Linked DNA regions of Homo sapiens: region 2 is linked to region 1. The links are contacts of gene promoters, found by promoter capture Hi-C in blood cells and fetal thymus (Javierre and others, 2016). All regions are on one chromosome and are shown on one strand. The core of a region is centred on a gene start or on the middle of the fragment in contact, and the rest is flanking DNA. Distances in the headings are between cores, read along the strand shown.

What was found. The method cuts DNA at HindIII sites, captures the fragments that hold promoters and counts their contacts. A CHiCAGO score of 5 or more calls a contact.
Region 2: a fragment that was not itself captured here is called in contact with the fragment with the promoter of LINC02453 in region 1 in 1 of 17 cell types (neutrophils); the score reaches 9.2 in neutrophils.

What each region holds. Positions count from the first base shown.
Region 1 is chr12:98,501,530-98,506,559 of GRCh38, reverse strand. LINC02453 (long intergenic non-protein coding RNA 2453) reads left to right here and starts at 2,705. Exons shown (of 4, transcript NR_038383.1): 1 at 2,705-2,800; 2 at 3,948-3,977. TRD-GTC1-1 (tRNA-Asp (anticodon GTC) 1-1) reads right to left here and starts at 3,057; the gene lies at 2,986-3,057. It overlaps TRW-CCA4-1 (tRNA-Trp (anticodon CCA) 4-1), which reads right to left and starts at 2,308; the gene lies at 2,237-2,308. RefSeq lists enhancers at 2,348-2,647, 2,658-2,967. The HindIII fragment of the contact is 12,452 bases long and covers 1,235-5,030 here.
Region 2 is chr12:98,758,150-98,763,179 of GRCh38, reverse strand. The region is part of intron 25 of ANKS1B (ankyrin repeat and sterile alpha motif domain containing 1B); the gene reads left to right. Among named protein-coding and RNA genes, the nearest start is that of APAF1, 120 kb to the right of the region's middle. The HindIII fragment of the contact is 1,435 bases long and covers 1,401-2,835 here.

The DNA.
Region 1 (5,030 bases), core at 1,456-3,955:
CTGGAATTATAGGCACCCGCCACCGCGCCCAGCTAATTTTTCTATTTCCAGTAGAGACAGGGTTTCACCATGTTGGCAAGGCTGGTCTCCAACTCCTGATCTTGTGATCCACCTGCCTTGGCCTCCCAAAGTGCTGGGATTACAGGCGTGAGCCACTGCACCTAGCGTACTTAATCAGGTCTTACGATCATTCTGAGGTACTAGGAGTGAGGGCTTCAACATATGAATGTTGGGGAGATGAAATTCAGCCCATAAACTGGGTGTGGTGGCTCACGCCTGTAATCCCAGCACTTTGGGAGGCTGACGCAGGTGGATCATGAGGTCAGGAGTTCAAGACCAGCCTGGCCAACATGGTGAAACCTTGTCTCTACTAAAGATAACAAACAAACAAACAAAAAAATAGCTGGGTGTAGTGGGGTGCACTTGTAATCCCAGCTACTTGGGAGGCTGAATCGTTTGAACCTGGGAGGCGGAGGTTGCCACTGCATTCCAGCTTGGGCGACAGGGTGAGACTCCATCTCAAAAAAAAAAAAAAAAAAAAAATTCAGCCCATAACAGAAGCCATTTCTTCCCTCTGGCATCATTTGCATATACTGCATATATCGTAGCTTGGACCAATCATGTTAACTCATTTGGACAAAACCATATTTTTGTGATGTAGATGGAGAGGTTGTATCACCTTGTTATAGCCTCATACAACCCAATGTGGAGTTACTGTCCACTGTTTTAGCACCCCCATACCACTCTGTTCATGTTACTTTCATGGTTCTTACCAAGTAACATGAACTTACCCCAACACATTATGGCGTTTGGTGGCTTAACATATCTGTCTCCTGATGCTCAAAAAAACCCATTTTTACTCAGTGTATCCTCATCCTTAGTACTTAGCACAGTATCAGGCTCATCAGAGTTGACAGTCCATAAATACCCGTTGAAATGGATGATCTAATTTTAATCCAAACAGGAGAGGGAAGAACAAACCACACCATGTGCAAATATAATTTCCAGGTATACTGCTACATTAGGTTGAATCAAAAGAAATTAGTGTTTGGTATTTTCAAAATACTAAGCAGAAAACCTCAGGAATTTTACAAAACATATCATCAAAATCTAAAACTATTAATTTCTCATAGTCTTGCTATTCATTTTCTGTTCAACAAATATTTGACACTTACGTGTAGGGCACTATTTAGTACTAAGAGTCCTGGAGCTTGCAAATGTGAACGAGCAAGCTTTGCTTCCTGCTATTAAAGAGATTAATAGTCAAAAGTGGTGACTAGTCATCACTCGCATAATCGGTGAAAACATAAAAGGCGCCCAGTCCAACAGCTTTTCCCACATTCCTCCCCGCCACCCACCTCCAGAAGGAGTCTTGCTTGGTCACCCAGGCTCACTGCAACCTCCGCCTCCCGGGTTCAATCAATTCTTCTGCCTCAGCCTCCGGAGTAGCTGGGATTACAGGTGCACCCCACCATGCCCAGCTAATTTTTGTATTTTCAGTAGAAATGGGGTTTCACCATGTTGGTCAGGCTGGTCTTGAACTCCTGACCTCGTGATCCACCCACTTTGGCCTTCCAAAGTGCTAGGATTACAGGTGTAAGCCACTGAGCCTGGCAGTCACACATTCTTTCAACTGTTTGTTTCCACCTTTATTATAAAGTATTTATAAAGAGGGATCCAGAGTCCCTCACCTGGTTCAGAATCTTGGGTGACCCTTGGCAGGTCACTAACCCTGTGAGCCACAGCCACATTTGTAAAAGTGGGATAATAGTCACACATTGTGAGGTTGTTCACAGTGTTGGCACATGGTAAGGGCTAAGACACTTGATTAGCATAATATTCAAAATTAGAAATTGTACACTATTGTACTCTCTTTCAAAAGGCAAACAGCCTAAAACTGTTTGGAAAAAACAGCTTGTACAGTATATTGTACACTTCCTGTGATAGACTAGTGGACTGATACACCCACTAATGCACAGCAGTAATAGTCCACCTCTTTACACATTATGCATGTTAAGTGACAAAAAAACTCACTTTAAAAGGCCAAATGATAAAAACATCAGCCTTGAGGCTCTTCGATATAGAGTAAATCATATCTTCCTGCAAACCAAGGATTAGTATCATAATACCTGAAAGAGGAAAACTTAATTCTAACATTCAAGAAAATTGGCGGCAGGAATACACCTCGGCTTCTAGTAGTCGGTAGTTTAAAATACAGGAGGAAAAAAAAAAAGTTTGACCCCGACGTGATTCGAACACGCAGCCTTCTGATCTGGAGTCAGACGCGCTACCGTTGCGCCACGAGGTCCTGCTGGGCTGTGGCTCGCGCAGTTTCTTAGGACACCAGTAAATGGCGTTTCTTCCAGGGGTACCAGTCTTTCTCTTCCATTTACTCTCTGCCCCTCCACCCAGTATCTGTCGGACCAGGAGACCGATTCCTTCAGCGTCCAAACTTTCCTGACTGCTAGTCCTCTAACCAAGGCTGGGACGTAACCAGCGGAAGCGGGAGAACGGGGCTTCCCGTTTAGTCGGGTCTCCAGGATCAAAGGAAATTGGCCCTTCCTTTTCTTTACCAAATGATTTCCGTTCTTACCCGCCCTGCCCCCGCCCCGTTAGTCGCGAGACTCCGCCCTCTCTCCCCTCCCCCAACAGGTTCCGCGCGCTGAGTTCGCGACCTCGAGTTGTAATCTGGCGGGGCGCCACTAAGCCGGCGCAGGCCTTCGCAAGATGGCGGCTGGAGGCAAGGGCAGAGGCCTTCAGAGCGTTTTCTTTTTCCCTTTCCTCCCTTCCTGCAAACAATGTAAGGCATTTTCTCTCAGGGGAGGCTTTCACTTCATGGTGGGCATTAAGGTTAAAAGTCACCATTTTGAAGACAGGGTTGTGCACTTAAGGGAGCTGGTTTAGCATATTATGTTTAACAGCAGTGTCCTGTCATTGAATGATACAGAAAATAATAACTGTCGCCAAAAAAGTGCAGCTACACACCTCCCCGTCGGGGAATTGAACCCCGGTCTCCCGCGTGACAGGCGGGGATACTAACCACTATACTAACGAGGAGTCGTTAGGCTGTGTATTTTCTCAGACAGCCCTTCAAGGAGCAGTAAGATCCTTCCAGCGCTCCGTAACCTTCCGCCTGCCCCCGGGAAGTACGAAAGTCCGGTCTCTTGGAGCCGCTGCTTAGGCTTATTGTCCTCTCTGGGCGCTTTGTATTCTTGATGTTGGTGGGAAGAATAAAAGGTGTGGAATATGTGAAGGAAACGCGCTTCCCATGTTAGTGCTAGAGAAGTGTGTGAAAATAGTTTTTCCGAGGCTCTTGACGCGTTCTAAATGATTTAGGTTGCCGTCCTGAGTTTTTTTTTTTTAACTGACCACTGGTATGTGACTTGCGGCTGAGCCTTCCCCTTACAAATTTATACTTTCACTCTGAAGTTCAAGTTCAAGGATAGCATATGGCTGCCAGATGTCGGGGACAGTTAGGGTTGCCACGGTCTCGTGCCTCTTCAAACAATTCATAAGTCTTTTTTTTTTGAGAGGAAGTCTCGCTCTGTCCCCTAGGCTGGAGTGCAGTGTTGCGATCTGGGCTCACTACAACCTCCACCTCCAAGGCTCAAGTGATTCTCCCGCCTCAGCCTCTCGAGTGGCTGGGATTACAGGCGCGCACCACCATGCCTGGCTAATTTTTGTATTTTACTAGAGACGCGGGGTGTGTGTGTGTGTGTGGGGGGGGGGAGGGTTCACCATGTTGGCCAGACTGGTCTCGAACTCGTGACCTTTAGTGATCCACCTGCCTCGGCCTCCCAAAGTGCTGGGATTTACAGGCGTGAGCCACCGCGCCCGGCCAATTCACACACTTTTGTAACACAAAAGCGCCCAATGAAATGACCAGCTGCGGGCAAATGAAATTTTATCAAAATTTTATCAGCCGACTTCTGTTTCGCTCTCTGTAGGTGGCTACAGTTTAACTGGAAGTGACAAACGTAAGTATGTGAATGGCTAAATAATAATGCGTTTAAATAATTCAAAACCAGGATGTGCCACTGATTAAACATATGGGTTAGGAAAGTGCACTAATCGGATAATTTGATAATTTGTGTCATCCTAAACCCGTTCATAGACAGGATGAACCCTCTTCCCAGGGATACTAAGAGAGCCTTATATGTAAACTTTTTTTTTTGAGACGGAGTTTCACTCTTGTTGCCCAGGCTGGAGTGCAGTGGTGCGATCTTGGCTCACTACCACCTCCGTCCCCCGGGTTCAAGCGATTCTCCTGTCTCAGCCTCCCGAGTAGCTGGGATTACAGGTGCCCACAAACACGCCCGTTCAATTTGTGTTTCTAGTAGAGATGGTAATTCACCACGTTGGTCAGGCTGGTCTCGAACTCCTGACCTAAGGTGATCCACCCACCTCGGCCTCCCAAAGTGCTGGGATTACAGGCGTGAGCCACCGCGCCTGGCTATAAACTTTTGATTTTCTCTAAAGGAGTGTGTTTATAGGCACAGATAAACTGACATGATTGAAAGCGTTTCATTATAGAACTTAAACTTACGTGTCTCGTCTCCGACCCAACCAATCAGGACTCCCAACTCACTGACCCCTACCCAACAAATTATCCTTAAAGATAATAAAAATAACAACAACAACAACAACAACAACAAAAACCCCACATATGTGTCTTAAGGAATCCCTTGTTTCTAGTGTGCTACGAATTAATGTATTATCCATCATAAATTATAAGGTATTTTTCATCTGATGGAAGGGATAATTTTTTTAATGCAGATATTAAACAAATGGCAGTTTCTGAGGCTTGTTTTGGCTTTTCTTTCTTTTTTGCTCTCATTATTATTATTATTATTTGAGACGGAGTCTTGCTCTGTCGCCCAGGCAGGAGTGCAGTGGCACGCTCTCGGCTCACTGCAACCTCCGCCTTCTGGGTTCGGGCGATTCCTCTGCCTTAGCCTCCCGAGTAGCTGGAACTACAGGCGCACGCCACCACTCCCTTTTGTATTTTTAGTAGAGTCGGGGGTTTCACC
Region 2 (5,030 bases), core at 869-3,368, 260 kb before region 1:
AAAAACAAGTACAAGCAAAATATAGCCTAAAAAGAAATGTCGCTTCTTTCTGGAGACCCCACTGAGAACCCAGATTGAAAAAAACCTTCTTGTGTCTTCAGGCCCCCTGTGGCATTATCTGCACTTGTCTAGCTTTTGTTCTTCAGGTCTGCCTGTGGGAGAGAAGACAGAAGGAAGGAATTGGCTCTGGCCATCCATATTCCCCCTTTTCTTAACCTTAAGGTGCAAGTTCCCTTATCTTAGGGACCTACCAGGCAACTTCCTTTTTGTGTTTAGCCAACAAACATTTCTTGAGCACCTGACCTATTCTAAGCCCTAGAGATGCAAAGCCCAGTGAGACCAGAGCCCTCAAGGAGCTCAGTCAACTGGGGGAATCAGCCCTATAAGGAGAAAATCATAATAAATACCACGTGGTAAGTAGGGCTGTGCCCAAGGTATTGTGGCACCGCAGAGGAGGGGCACCTAACTTAGCCAGGGTTGGGAGGACAGGAAAGGAGATTCAAAGAAGGCTTCTGGAGATATGATGCCCGAGGTGAGTCTTCAAGGATAAGCAGTAACTCACCAGGCAAAGGTGGGAGATGGCAAACGCATGTATTGCCAAGAACAAATCCATTTTGTAATAGATGAAATGCTTGGCCATTTGGAATAGCATTTAGGGGTGATTGCTGGAATGAAGGTGTTTTCTGAGATGAAGGGCAGCCCGTTGGTGGTGACTGCCTCTCTGAGCTCTAGCTGGTGGGTTATGGAGCCCTGCAGTCTGGCCTCTGGGTAACATGCCACTGTTTAGCACAGCATCAACTGTGCGTGCATCTCTAAACTGAATCTGTAGTTGACTGGGTAAAAGATAGCCCCTTCTAATCAGAGAATCCTGAAACTCCCAGGGTGGAAAGGGACCAATAGGTCACCTGGACCACACCCACTTCTCAGTGGCAATAGGTGCTGTAGGTAGGTAGCCCATGGTGGAGCTGGCCTATGCAGGTGATCCAGGGACTCTGTTTATGGCCTCTATTCACTGATAGACACTTTTCAATCAGACATCTCAAGGTACTTTATGACACCCAAGCTTTTCTGCCCTGGACTCCCACATACAGACACAGCCCTTCCCTTGAACGTGTCTGCATCTGTGCCCTCTTCATGGTGTGGGTGAGCTTCTGCTGACCCCTGTCTGGGCCTGCAGCTCTCTGATGCTATGGAATGAATACATTTGTTCATTCCATTCCAGTCATGAAAATGTGGCCATTGTGTTTCTAATGGTAATGCAAAGCACTGCAAGGCAGGTCAAAATGGTCCACTCAGAAAGAGCAGCCTCCCAGCCTGGGTCAGGAGGGCCTTTCCTCCCTGGATGGCCTCCTCCTCAGATTCCTTACTCCTTCGTCATATTCGCCAGATGAGATGAAGCTTTATGCCTGACATACCTTGTCAGCCATTTGGGCAGCAATGCATTCAACAAAGTAAGTCCTGGAATAAATATCTAAGTGAACAAATGGACAGTGTTTCTACCATGCCTCATTCCATAACGGATTGAAGACAGCCTACATGAATAGGTATAGTAGTCTGAAAATATATATATACATACACACAAATCTGAATTAGGGAAAATATAGGCTAAAAGGAAGCTCCATATCAAGGGAAAAGTTGTAGCATCAATATACAGACCATGGAGTTGTGGAAAGGTATGGGAGCTGGGCTCTCTCTAGCTCTGAGCTTTTAGCTCTGAGCTTCCTGGAGGTCAAGGCAAAAAGGGAAATGCAGTAATTTTATGCTGCATATTTCTTTGAAAGAAAAGTATACCCCTTCCCTTCCGAAAATAGTATTTTAATAAGACTTAAGTATGAAGGAACTTTCTGTCCTAGGCCCCCATGAGGGGATACTGTGTAATAATGTCTTCACCAACATTTGTACAGTGAATCTCCAAAACACAAGATGGTGTTCTAGAGGGTGCCTCAATGAAATAGGCACAGAAGACCAGCACATTCATGAGAGCAATGAAGGTAGGATAGCCCAGTGGCATGAAACACTGGCTAATCTGAAGTCAGATCTGCACTTGAATCCTGGCTCTGCTGTATGAACTTGGCCAAGTTGTCAATTTCGCTGATCCTTAGTTTCTCACACGTAAAATGAGGATGGTCATTCCTCCTCTGTAAGGTGTTGTAAGGGGTAGACAATCCACAGAAGGCACTTAGCCTCGTCCCTAGGATGTAGTAGGCAATATCATGTGTAGTTGCTGCTGCCACTGCTTTATCATCATTATGAAAGGAAATAAAATACAGTTCAAGTTCATAGGCAGTTTGACTTCGTGCAGAGATCAAACTTTGCACAGCTACAAGAGCGGATTGACTGCATGTCTATAAGTTAATATCCACGTAACAACATTTTTCACTTGGGCTTGGCAGAAGTTGGACCATTAAAGGGTCAATTCCGCACTTGGAGTAGAAGTATTAGGGTTGCAGCTTAAAGGAAGAGCTTGATACTTCAAAGTCTCACTGAGAAGATGTTAGAATTGGCATCCAGTATGAAAACTGAAGAGCCTAAACAAGATTCTTTGCCAAATGAATGGGCAGCTTCCTGGCACATAGAGGTGAGCCATGACAGCACCTGCAGAGAGGTTCCAGATTTTGCTGGAAAGTAGTTCCCAGCCCTCTCAGCCAGAGAATGAAGAGACCCTCAGAACCCCAAGGTGATGCAGAAAGAATAAGATCCATCCTGGGCAACATGTTGAAACCCTGTCTCTAAAAAACATACAAAAATCAGCCAGGTGTGATGACACATTACCTGTGGTCCCAGCTACTCCAGAGGCTGAGGTGAGAGGATCATGTGAGCCTGGGAGGTCAAGCTTTCTGTGAGCCATGACTGTGCCACTGCACTCCAGCCTGGACAACAGAGCAAGACCCTGTCTCAAAAAAAAAAAGCAAGAATAAGACTATTTTAAACGCAAAAGACTTTCTCTTGTTTTTAATTATCAAAATGGAAAGATTATTTTATGACTGTAAACATCATTAATCCTCATTTAAATAAAGTTCCAAAATACAAAAATAGAAATCATCCAGTCTCAATACGCAGTGATAACTACTATTCACATTTGATCCATATTGCTATTTTCTATGCATATATACAGATCCTATCTATGTGTATATGTATACATATATTTTTACGTAGTCTTTTAACCCATTATTGATTTATTTATTTTATTTATTTATTTTTAGACGGAGTCTCACTCTGTCACCCAGGCTGGAATGCAGTGGTGCGACCTCGGCTCATTGCAATCTTCACCTCCTGGGCTCAAGCGAGTCTCCTGCCTCAGCCCCCCGAGTAGCTGGGATTACAGATGTGCACCACCACGCCCAGCTAATTTTTTGTATTTTAGTAGAGACAGCGTTTCACCATGTTGCCCGGGGTGGTCTTGAACTCCTGAGCTCAGGCAATCCACCCGCCTCCAGTTTTCATGTTAAATGGCTACCTAGTATTCTACTTAATCAGTCCTCTAATAATGAAAAATTTAAACACTTTAATGAATATTTTTGCACATGTATCAGTGAACCCTTGTGCCTAAGAGATTTTCAAACTAAGAAACAAAAATCTTAGTGATGTACCAGTTAAAATAAATTAATTACCTTGGTGGCTAGAGCTTTTTCTAGGGGACAGATTGCCCACCATCTATGATGCAATTTTTCTCATACTAGACCGATGAATATGCTGCGTATAGCCTCGGGGACAAGGATGCGGGAGGACAGCGAGGAAGATCTCTTTGTCTCTCCATGAGCCTCCTCTGGATGTAATGAGAGTCTTGATGGACACTTTTACTCCCCCATGTCATTCAGTGATCACTTCCTGGACATTGTCTATAGGCTAGGCATGGGACTGGCACCAGGGACACAGCCCTTAACACTTGGAAGGAGCTTGGTAAATATCTGTGGTGATGTTCAATATCCATGATTGCCTTGAAGAAACCACAGTAAATATAAGCTGACCTGCATATCTTCAGCTTGCACAAGAAAAGTGAGTTTGCATCCCTTGATTGCCTTAGGATTTATCTTTATGATACAGTGGTTCCTTAAGCTCCTCTAATGTAGCAGTTCTTAATTCGCAGATCAAAATCCCAGGCCGGGCACAGTGGTTCATGCCTATAATTCTAGCACTTTGGGAGGCCCAGGCAGGAGGATCACTTGAGGCCAGGAGCTCGAGACCAGCCTGGCCAACACAGTGAAACCCCATCTCTGCCATAAAAAAAAAAAAAAAAATTAGCCAGGCGTGCACGCCTATAATCCCAGCCACTCAGGAGGCTGAGGCAGGAGAATCACTTGAACCCGGGAGGTGGAGATGGCAGTAAGCTGAGATCACACCACTGCACTCCAGCCTAGGTAAGAGAGTGAGACCCTATCTCAAAAAAAAAAAAAAAAAAGGAAGGAAAAGAAAAGAAAAGAAAAAAGAAAAATCCCTGGGGAAGAAGAGAAGAGAAGGGAAGGGAAGAGGGGAATTCCTGTGCTTTCCAGGAGGTTTTTCCCCATTGGACTGGGACTCCCTACCCTTCTTCCTAAATAGCCACTACTGAGGATGGGAGTTGCCTCGTATCTTTTACCTCACCCTTGGGGAAGCCAAAGATGAAGAATTCCTGTGTTGATGGTCTCTGTGGAGTCACGAAGTACACCCCCGGCCTGGAGGCTGCCTCTCAGCCAGACTGGGCATGAGACCCAGGCAATGGGCCAGTAGGTGACCTCACCACAGCCAAGATGGGTCAGTCACTTGGAAGCTCAATTGGCTCACATGTTTTTTAAACTTTTTAAAACAGATTACAGAATTTTTTTTATTTTATCTTATGTATAGTTTTAAGGTGTAATGGTCAAGAAGAGTATAGCCTCTCAGAAAGAACAACTGGATTCAAATCCCAGTTTGTCTGGGTGCTGACTTCATGAGCAAGTTATTTAACCTTTCTGAGCGTAATTATCTCATGTGCAAAATGGAAGTAATAGACCTACGGCATACAGATACGGTTAGGATTGAATTAAAGAGCCCATGTTGAAGCACTTAGCATG